2 separate regions of the Homo sapiens genome follow, and region 1 is linked to region 2. The links are contacts of gene promoters, found by promoter capture Hi-C in human tissues and cell types (Jung and others, 2019). All regions are on one chromosome and are shown on one strand. Each heading gives the region's core, a stretch centred on a gene start or on the middle of the fragment in contact. The rest is flanking DNA. Distances are from core to core; before and after follow the strand shown. Region 1 overlaps LOC112268239 (a long non-coding RNA gene). Region 2 holds the start of CTSS (cathepsin S).

Region 1 (4,259 bases), core at 102-2,601, 130 kb before region 2:
TGATTCTCCTGCCTCAGCCTCCCGACTACAGGTGTGCGCCACCATGCCCGGCTGATTTTTGTATTTTTAGTAGAGACAGGGTTTCGCCATGTTGGCCAGGCTGGTCTCAAACTCCTGAACTCAGGTGACCTGCCTGCCTCGGCCTCCCAAATGCTGGGATTACGGGCGTGAACCACCGTGCCCGGCCTGAAAACATGGACTTTATTAAAAGCGAATGAACCATTTGGTGGAGACATCCAGGCAATGAAGACTTAGGATAAATGACCTCTAAGATCTCCATATCTGAAATTTAAGGGTTCTAGGAAATGTAAGTGTGGGAGTTTGGGAGAAAAGTAGACGCTGAAGATGTACAAATTTTGGACTTTTTCACATAAATGTAAGTAAAGTTGTGGAAGTTGATGGGATCACAAAGGAGAATGTAGGAAAAAAAGAGGTTCCAGTCAGGTGCGGTGGCTTACACCTGTAATCCCAACACTTTGAATGGTCAAGGTGAGAGGATCGCCTGAAGCCAGGAGTTTGAGGTTACAGTGAGCTATGATCATGCCATTGCACTCCAGCCTAGGCAACAGAGTGAACCCGTCTCTTAAAAAAAAAAAAAAAAAAAAAACTCCCAAGACAGAAACGTGGGGAAAAGTTGGCAAAAGACATACAAATGATCAGAGTGGTAGGGAGAGAATTAGAAGAGAGAAGAGCCATGGAAAGCAAATGAAGAAAGGGAGGGCAGGTTGTCAATGTTAAATGTGATACAGAAATTAAAGATGGAGGTGATAGAGGTCAATCGCAAGACGTTAAGGAGCGAGGAGGTGGTACCAATATTGAACAGTGGTAGCAATATTTAACAGTAAAGCAAGGAAAGGGCAGAGCTGTAGCAGCAGATTTTCTTTTGGGGAATAGGCAAGACTCAAGCATGTTTTTAGAAAAGGCGAATGAGGCTGGATGTGGTGGCTCACGCCTGTAACCCCAGCACTTTGGGATTCATCTAAAAGATGAATAATTCTTTTGGGAAATACTTTCTGATCAAGCTATTTCTAATTCCAAGCTCTGCTTAAGAATAATGTGTAAAAACTATGATTGCTAAAGGAACGATTGATTTAAATTATACATTTGTCCTTTTTTTTGAGACTGAGTTTAATTCTTGTTGCCCAGGCTGGAGTGCAATGATGTGATATCTCGGCTCACTGCAACCTCCCCCTCCCAGGTTCAAGTGATTCTCCTGCCTCAGCTGTGGGGAAAAGAAAGAGAGATCAGACTGTTACTGTGTCTGTGTAGAAAGAAGTAGATATAAGAGACTCCATTTTGTTCATCTTGTGAGTCGATGGCGCACGATTGCGGTGTTTCTGTCTCCGTGGAGGTGCTTTTCTTTGCATCTCCGATGGGTTCATTGTAGAACTTCAAATGTCTAGTGGGTATCCAAACAGGAAGCTGATTTTCTCCTGGTGAAACACAAGCAAAACCTCTCCCCCATGTTACCACCTTCCCTATTTCCCATGTCTTATTTTTATTATCTTTCTACCAAATCAGTTTTCCTTCATGTGGGCTGTTCTTTTTACCAGTAAGATGTTGTTCTGCAGAAGTAGTAGTCTGATTTCTATAAATGTTTAAAAAATATAAAGTGCTAGATTAAGTTGCATCTGAGGCGTGGTACATTCCTTACTGTCTCCCCCTTCTTTTTATTTAACTAATTGAGTTTTGAGTGTTCTATTAGTTCTTTCAACTATGGCCTGTCCTTGGGAATTATAAGGAATTCCTGTTGTATGTGAAATTTTCCACTGACTTAAGAATTTTTGGAAAGCTTTACTACAGTATCCTGCCCCATTGTCAGTTTTAATTTTTTCTGGAACTCTCATTACAGCAAAACAAGGTAATAAATGTTTTTTAACATGGGAAGTACTTTCTCCTGTCTGGCAGGTTGCCCATATGAAATGTGAATAAGTATCAACTGTTACATGAACATATAATAATCTTCCAAATGAAGGTACATGCGTGACATCCATTTGCCGTAATGCATTAGGACACAGACCCCTGGGATTAACTCCTGCCTCTTGAGTGGGCAGGTGTAGGACTTGACACTGGGTGCAATGTCGTACAATATCTTTTGCCTGTTTCCATGTGACATCAAATTTGTTTTTTAATCCTGCTGCATTTACATGAGTCAAAGCATGAAATTTTTGTGCTTTTATGAATGCAGATGATACCAGTAAGTCAGCTGGTTCATTTGCTTTAGTCAAAGGCCCTGGTAAATTAGTGTGTGCTCGAATATGAGTAATATAAAATGGGAAATTTCTTTTTCTTACAGTTTGTTGTAATAAATTGAATAGCTGGTTTAACTGATCATCCATGCTATATTTAATTAGAGCTGTCTTTACATCCCTTGTAGCCTGTACTACATATGCAGAATCTGATACAATATTGATAGGTTGATCAAAATCTTGTAACACTGTAATGACTGCAACCAACTCTGCCCTTCGAGCCAATTGATATTGAGTTTTGATTACTTGCTCTTTTGGCCCTGTGTAAGCCGCTTTTCCATTGCTGGAACCATCAGTAAACACTGTCAGAGCATTTTCTAAAGGTTCACGTCTGGTAATTTTAGGTAGAATCCAAGTAGTTAATTTTAAAAACTGGAAGATTTTTGTTTTTGGGTAATGATGATCAATAATTCCCACAAAATTAGCAAGACCAATCTGCCATGCACCAGAATTGATAAAGGCTTGTCTAACTTGTTCCTTGGTTCAAGGGACAACTATTTTGTCTGGGTCATTTACACACAATTTTATTATTTGTAATCTTGCCTGACCAATTAATGTAGCTATTTGATCCAAGTACAATGTAAAAGTCTTAATTGTACTGTGAGGAAGGAATGACCACTCCACAAGATCAGTATTTTGAACAGTGATGCCTGTTGGAGAATGTGCAGTAGCAAAAACCAAAAGTTGGAGTGGGGCTAAGGGATCTATTCTATTTATTTGCACTGACTGAATTTTTTGTTCCACTAATTTAATTTCTTTTATTGCCTCTGGGGTTAATATTCTCTTACTATTTAAGTCTGAGTCTCCTCTTAAGATAGAGAACCAATTTTCGAAGCATCAAAAGCCCATTTAAATTTGGTACCAGAAACTGAGGCAATCGCAGGAGTGACTGATGGCCTCGCAAATCTTAACCCTGTCACTTGGGTTAAGACCATCGGAAGTACTACTATTATAAATTTCGTATTAATCCTTGTGTGCCTGTTTTATCTGTTGTTAGTCTGCAGGTGTACCCAGCAGCTCCGAAGAGACAGCGACCATCGAGAACAAGCCATGATGATGATGGTGGTTTGTCGAAAAGGAAATGGGGAAATGTGGGGAAAAGAGAGATCAGACTGTTACTGTGTCTGTGTAGAAAGAAGTAGACATAAGAGACTCCATTTTGTTCTGTACTAAGAAAAATTATTCTGCCTTGAGATGCTGTTAATCTGTAACCCTACCCCCAACCCTGTGCTCCCTGAAACACGTGCTGTGTCAACTCAGGGTTAAATGGATTAAGGGCTGTGCAGGATGTGCTTTGTTAAACAAATGCTTGAAGGCAGCATGCTTGTTAAGAGTCATCATCACTCCCTAATCTCAAGTACCCAGAGACAATACGCTGCGGAAGGCCGCAGGGACCTCTGCCTAGGAAAGCCAGGTATTGTCCAAGGTTTCTCCCCATGTGATAGTCTGAAATATGCTGGCCGGGAAAGACCTGACCGTCCCCCAGCCCAACACCCGTAAAGGGTCTGTGCTGAGGAGGATTAGTAAAAGAGGAAGGAAGGCCTCTTTGCAGTTGAGATAAGAGGAAGGCATCTGTCTCCTGCTCGTCCCTGGGCAATGGGATGTCTCGGTGTAAAACCCGATTGTATGTTCCATCTACTGAGATGGGGAAAACCGCCTTAGGGCTGGATGTGGGACATGCTGGCAGCAATACTGCTCTTTAAGGCATTGAGATGTTTATGTGTATGCACATCAAAAGCACAGCACTTTTTTCTTTACCTTGTTTATGATGCGGAGACGTTTGTTCACATGTTTTCCTGCTGACCTTCTCTCCACTATTACCCTATTGTCCTGCCACATCCCCCTCTCCGAGAAACGCCCAATAATGATCAATAAATACTGAGGGAACTCAGAGACTGGTGCCGGTGCGGGTCCACTGTATGCTGAGCGCCACTTCCCTAAGCCCACTTTTCTTTCTCTATACTTTGTCTCTGTGTCTCCTTCTTTTCTTAAGTCTCTCATTCCACCTGA
Region 2 (4,018 bases), core at 1-2,500:
ACACCCAGCTTAAATATTTACTGAAAACACTGCCTGTAAGAACACAATTTTAAGAGGTAGAAAACAGTACTCCTTTAAAAGCATATCGCTCGAGTGGCAATCCAATCTACCTTTTCCTTGTATTGTTTGCCATAGGTTTTCTTCCAGAGATGCCAGTGGTGATCCAGGGTAGGATCTTTATGCAACTGTGCCACTGCAGAGGAGCACACCAAGAGCACACAAACCAGCCGTTTCATTCTGTGTAAGGAAAGGTAACATAGGAAGTGTTGCTATTAGCTGCATATGTTGTGACCACATGTTTTCATAAGAGAAAATAACAATGCAAAGTCTATCAAAGGGACAGACTATTATAAACAGAATTATACAGGAAAATTCCTGGGATATATAGTCACAGGGAACAGCTGCAGATTTATGTCAGAAATACTACTTCCAATGCTTAGTAGCACTTTAAAAAGTGATTTCCAGGAATTTCCCAATATCTGGTAAACCAAACACATCTAGAGGGTTAGAAAACAGGGACTTTCCAGGATTTGCCAACAAATCTAATCAAAGGAAATCTCTTTCTCTCTCTCTCAAAAAAAAAAAAAAATCATCCTTAAGAGAGACAAACCTCTGAAAAATCAGTTTATCTCCTGAATTTTTGAATACATGGGCTCTTCTTAACTGACCTGTTTAAATATCCACAGTCTTTACAGATAGTTAAAAGACAATTCTCATCTATTGCTTTCACATCTTTAGGTAGGTAATTTTCCTTTTTACGTTTTTTTTTTTTTAATGATCAGACATCTGTTTCAAATGAGGCAATTAACTACTCTTTAAAATGCCACTTCTGTATTTAATTCAAGAGACATCAACAGAAATTCAGCGACTAGCTCCCTCAAACTGGATTCTACTTTCTTTTCCATTTCTTTTTAATTGAAAACATCTGGAATTTTAAACATGTAAGCCTTTAAATTATATTCCAAAGAAAGCCATGTTTCAGTCTCAACTTAGATGCTTAGATGCTCAAGCAGACATTAACTTTTTAAAAATAGAGAAGAGGCAAATTGAACGACACGATTTTTTAGTTTACTTCCTGAAACCAAAGATTTAAAACCTAGCAGGCAGAACAAGTTACAAACACAGAGTGTTTGAAGACCAAATGGGAGAAAAAGAACAAAGAGTACATACGTGATAGAACCAGCAGTTGCTCCCACAGTAAGAGTCCTTGAATTAGTGGGCTCTCTTCTAAGATTTCAAAGCAACAAGGAGATTTCAGTTCAATTGACTTGAAAAGAAATTGGAACTTGTCACATGAGGTACTCAAAATGAGGAAGTGAACTTTCATTTCAGTTTCATTTAAAATCTAGCTAGTACAGTCACCTCTAGTCATTTCCCTATGGTCTTGGGGACAAAGTGGATACAGTAAGCCATCAAGAAGAGCCCTTGTCTGAGCCCAGTGGCTCATGCCTATAATCCCAGCACTTTGGGAGGCTGAGGCGGGAGGATCACTTGAGGCCAGGAGTTCAAGACCAGCCTAGGCAATATAGTGAGACCCTGTCTCTGCAAAAAAATTTTTTTTAATTAGCTGGGCATGGTGGTGCATGCTTGTAGTCCCAGCTGAGGGGGAGGGTGAGGTGGGAGAATTGCTTGAGTCTAGGAGGACAAGGCTGCAGTGAGCCATGATTATGCCACTGTGTTTCAGCCTGGATGACATATCAAGACCCTATCTCAAAAAAAAAATTAAATTGAATTTTAAAAACACCAACTTTTACATGGAAAACATTTAGTTATAAAGAGATTTAGATAAAGCTCCCCAAATCCCAGCTCCTTGTATGATTTCCTAGGAAAACCTGTCTTACTGCTTTTAACACAACTCATTCATGATCTGATATTGTCTGGTTCTCACTCAGCCATTCCTTCGTTCATCAAACTCAAAATGTCTTTATTAATATATACTATATGTATAGTTTAGTAATATGCGTGTGTGTGTGTGTGTGTGTGTGTATGTGTTAGTATATTCATGGAAAAAAGGATACACTCAAATATATCCAATTGAGAATGATTACCTGGGTGGGGTGGGAGCAAGACGAACTATCATCTTTTAAATTTGCATTTTCCTAATTACTAATGAGGTTGAGGATCTTTTCACACATTTATTGACCGTTTGAATTTTCTGTGAATTTCCTGTTCATCTTTTTTGCTCATTTTTCTATTGTATTGTTGCATTTTCTTAGTGATTTGTGGGAGGTGTGTGTGTGTGTGTGTGTTGTGTGTTTTCCGAGACGGAGTCGTGCTTTGTCTCCCATGCTGGAGTGCATTGGTGCGATCTTGGCTCACTGCAACATCCACCTCCCAGGTTCAAGCGATTCTCTGCCTCAGACTCCCAAGTAGCTGGGATTACAGGCACCTGCCAGCATGTCCAGCTAATTTTTGTATTTTTAGTAGAGACAGGGTTTCACCATCTTGGCCAGGCTGGTCTTGAACTCTTCACCTCGTGATCCACCCGCCTCAGCCTCCCAAAGTGCTGGGATTACAGGTGTGAGCCACCGTGCCCGGCCAAGGTGTATGTGTTTTAAAAATATATTCTGGCTTCTAATCTTTGACAGTTATATACCCTTAAAAACATCCTCCCTTAGTCTTCCACTTGTCTTTTATTTTATTTTTTCTTCCTTTGCATAAGCCTATGAAATTCCACTTGTCCTTTAGTCTTGTTTATAGTGAGTTTTTCTATATGAAATTTTTTTATGTTGAGGTAGAACATTTTATTCAGCTTTTCCGTATAATCAATCTATACTGTTTTTGTATAAGAAAATTTTCCTCATCCAAATGTAATAAAGATACACTCATCTTATTTTTATACTTTCAGAGAGTGTTTTATTTATCTTTTCTATGGCTACTGCTTTTAGGTGTTTAATTCACCTGGAATTTAGTTTTGTGTATGGTATGACGTAGGGAGCTTATTTTCTTTGTTTTCCAATTTTGATTCTACCTCTATTGTACACCAAATTCTCATACATAGATAGGTCAGTTTCTGAGCTCATGAAGCTGTTCTTTTTATCTTTTGCTACTTCAGTATCACACAGTTTTAATTAAAACAGCTTTGTAATATGTCTCCACGTATGGTAAGGCAAGTCATCTAGGCCACCCTATCTTTGTTCTTCTTTTTAAACATTGTCTTTGTATTTTGTACTTGTTAACTCTTCTTTATATGAATTTTTTGAATCAGTTTATCAAGTTCCCTGAAAAACTCTGTTGGAGTTTTTTGCTTTTTTCTTTTGGAGACAGGGTTTCATTCTGTCACCCAGGCTGGAGTGCAGTGATGCAATCATGGCTCACTGCAGCCTTGACCTCCTGGGCTCAAGTGATCCTCCCGCCTCAGCCTCTGGAGTGGCTGGGACTACAGGTGCACACCACCATGCCTGGCTGATTTTGTTTTTTGTTTTTTGTAGATAAGGGGTTTCACCATGTTGCCCAGGCTGGCCTCAAACTCCTGGGCTCAAGCAATCTGCCCACCTTGGCCTCCTGAAGTGCTGGGATTACAGGCATGAGCCCCCACATCTGGCTATTAGAGTTTTTATTTGAATATATGCATAAATTTAGGGAGAAGTAACATCATTATAATGTTGATTCATCTCAGCTGTAGTAGACATGTTTGTGTTTGTAGCCATACAGTTTTTTTTAAAAAGATACTGCTTATGGAAAATTTAAAACACATGTAAAAGTAAAAATAGTAGTAAAATGAGCTGCCGTGAAACCATTGTCTTGTTTCAACAATGATCAGTACATGGCCAATCTTATTTTATTTATATTCCCACTCTCACTACCTGAATTATATTAAATAAATTCTAGACATTCTGTCATTTCATACGTAAATGTCCCTGTGTGTGTCTTTAAAAGACAGAGACTATTAAACAAATATAATACCACAATACCATCATCACATCTAAAATAAATGAACAATAATTTTCTTTTTTTTTTTTTTCTGAGACAGAGTCTCACTCACTTGCCCAGGCTGGAGTGCAGTGGTGTGATCCCA

The links. The method cuts DNA at HindIII sites, captures the fragments that hold promoters and counts their contacts. A contact is called where the count stands out against the background at its distance.
Region 1: a fragment that was not itself captured here is called in contact with the fragment with the promoter of CTSS in region 2 in 1 of the 25 tissues and cell types used here (lymphoblastoid cells).

Annotation. Positions count from the first base shown.
Region 1 is chr1:150,631,585-150,635,843 of GRCh38, forward strand. It overlaps LOC112268239 (a long non-coding RNA gene), which reads left to right. Exons shown (of 2, transcript XR_007066603.1): 2 at 3,247-4,142. Among named protein-coding and RNA genes, the nearest start is that of ENSA, 4.1 kb to the left of the region's middle. RefSeq lists enhancers at 2,805-3,430, 3,431-4,056, 4,057-4,259. The HindIII fragment of the contact is 5,269 bases long and covers 1-3,986 here.
Region 2 is chr1:150,764,528-150,768,545 of GRCh38, forward strand. It overlaps CTSS (cathepsin S), which reads right to left and starts at 1,251. Exons shown (of 8, transcript NM_004079.5): 1 at 1,171-1,251; 2 at 111-237. The coding sequence starts at 236. RefSeq lists enhancers at 142-191, 1,122-1,266, 1,125-1,269 and cis regulatory regions at 1,194, 1,197. The HindIII fragment of the contact is 11,511 bases long and covers 1-4,018 here.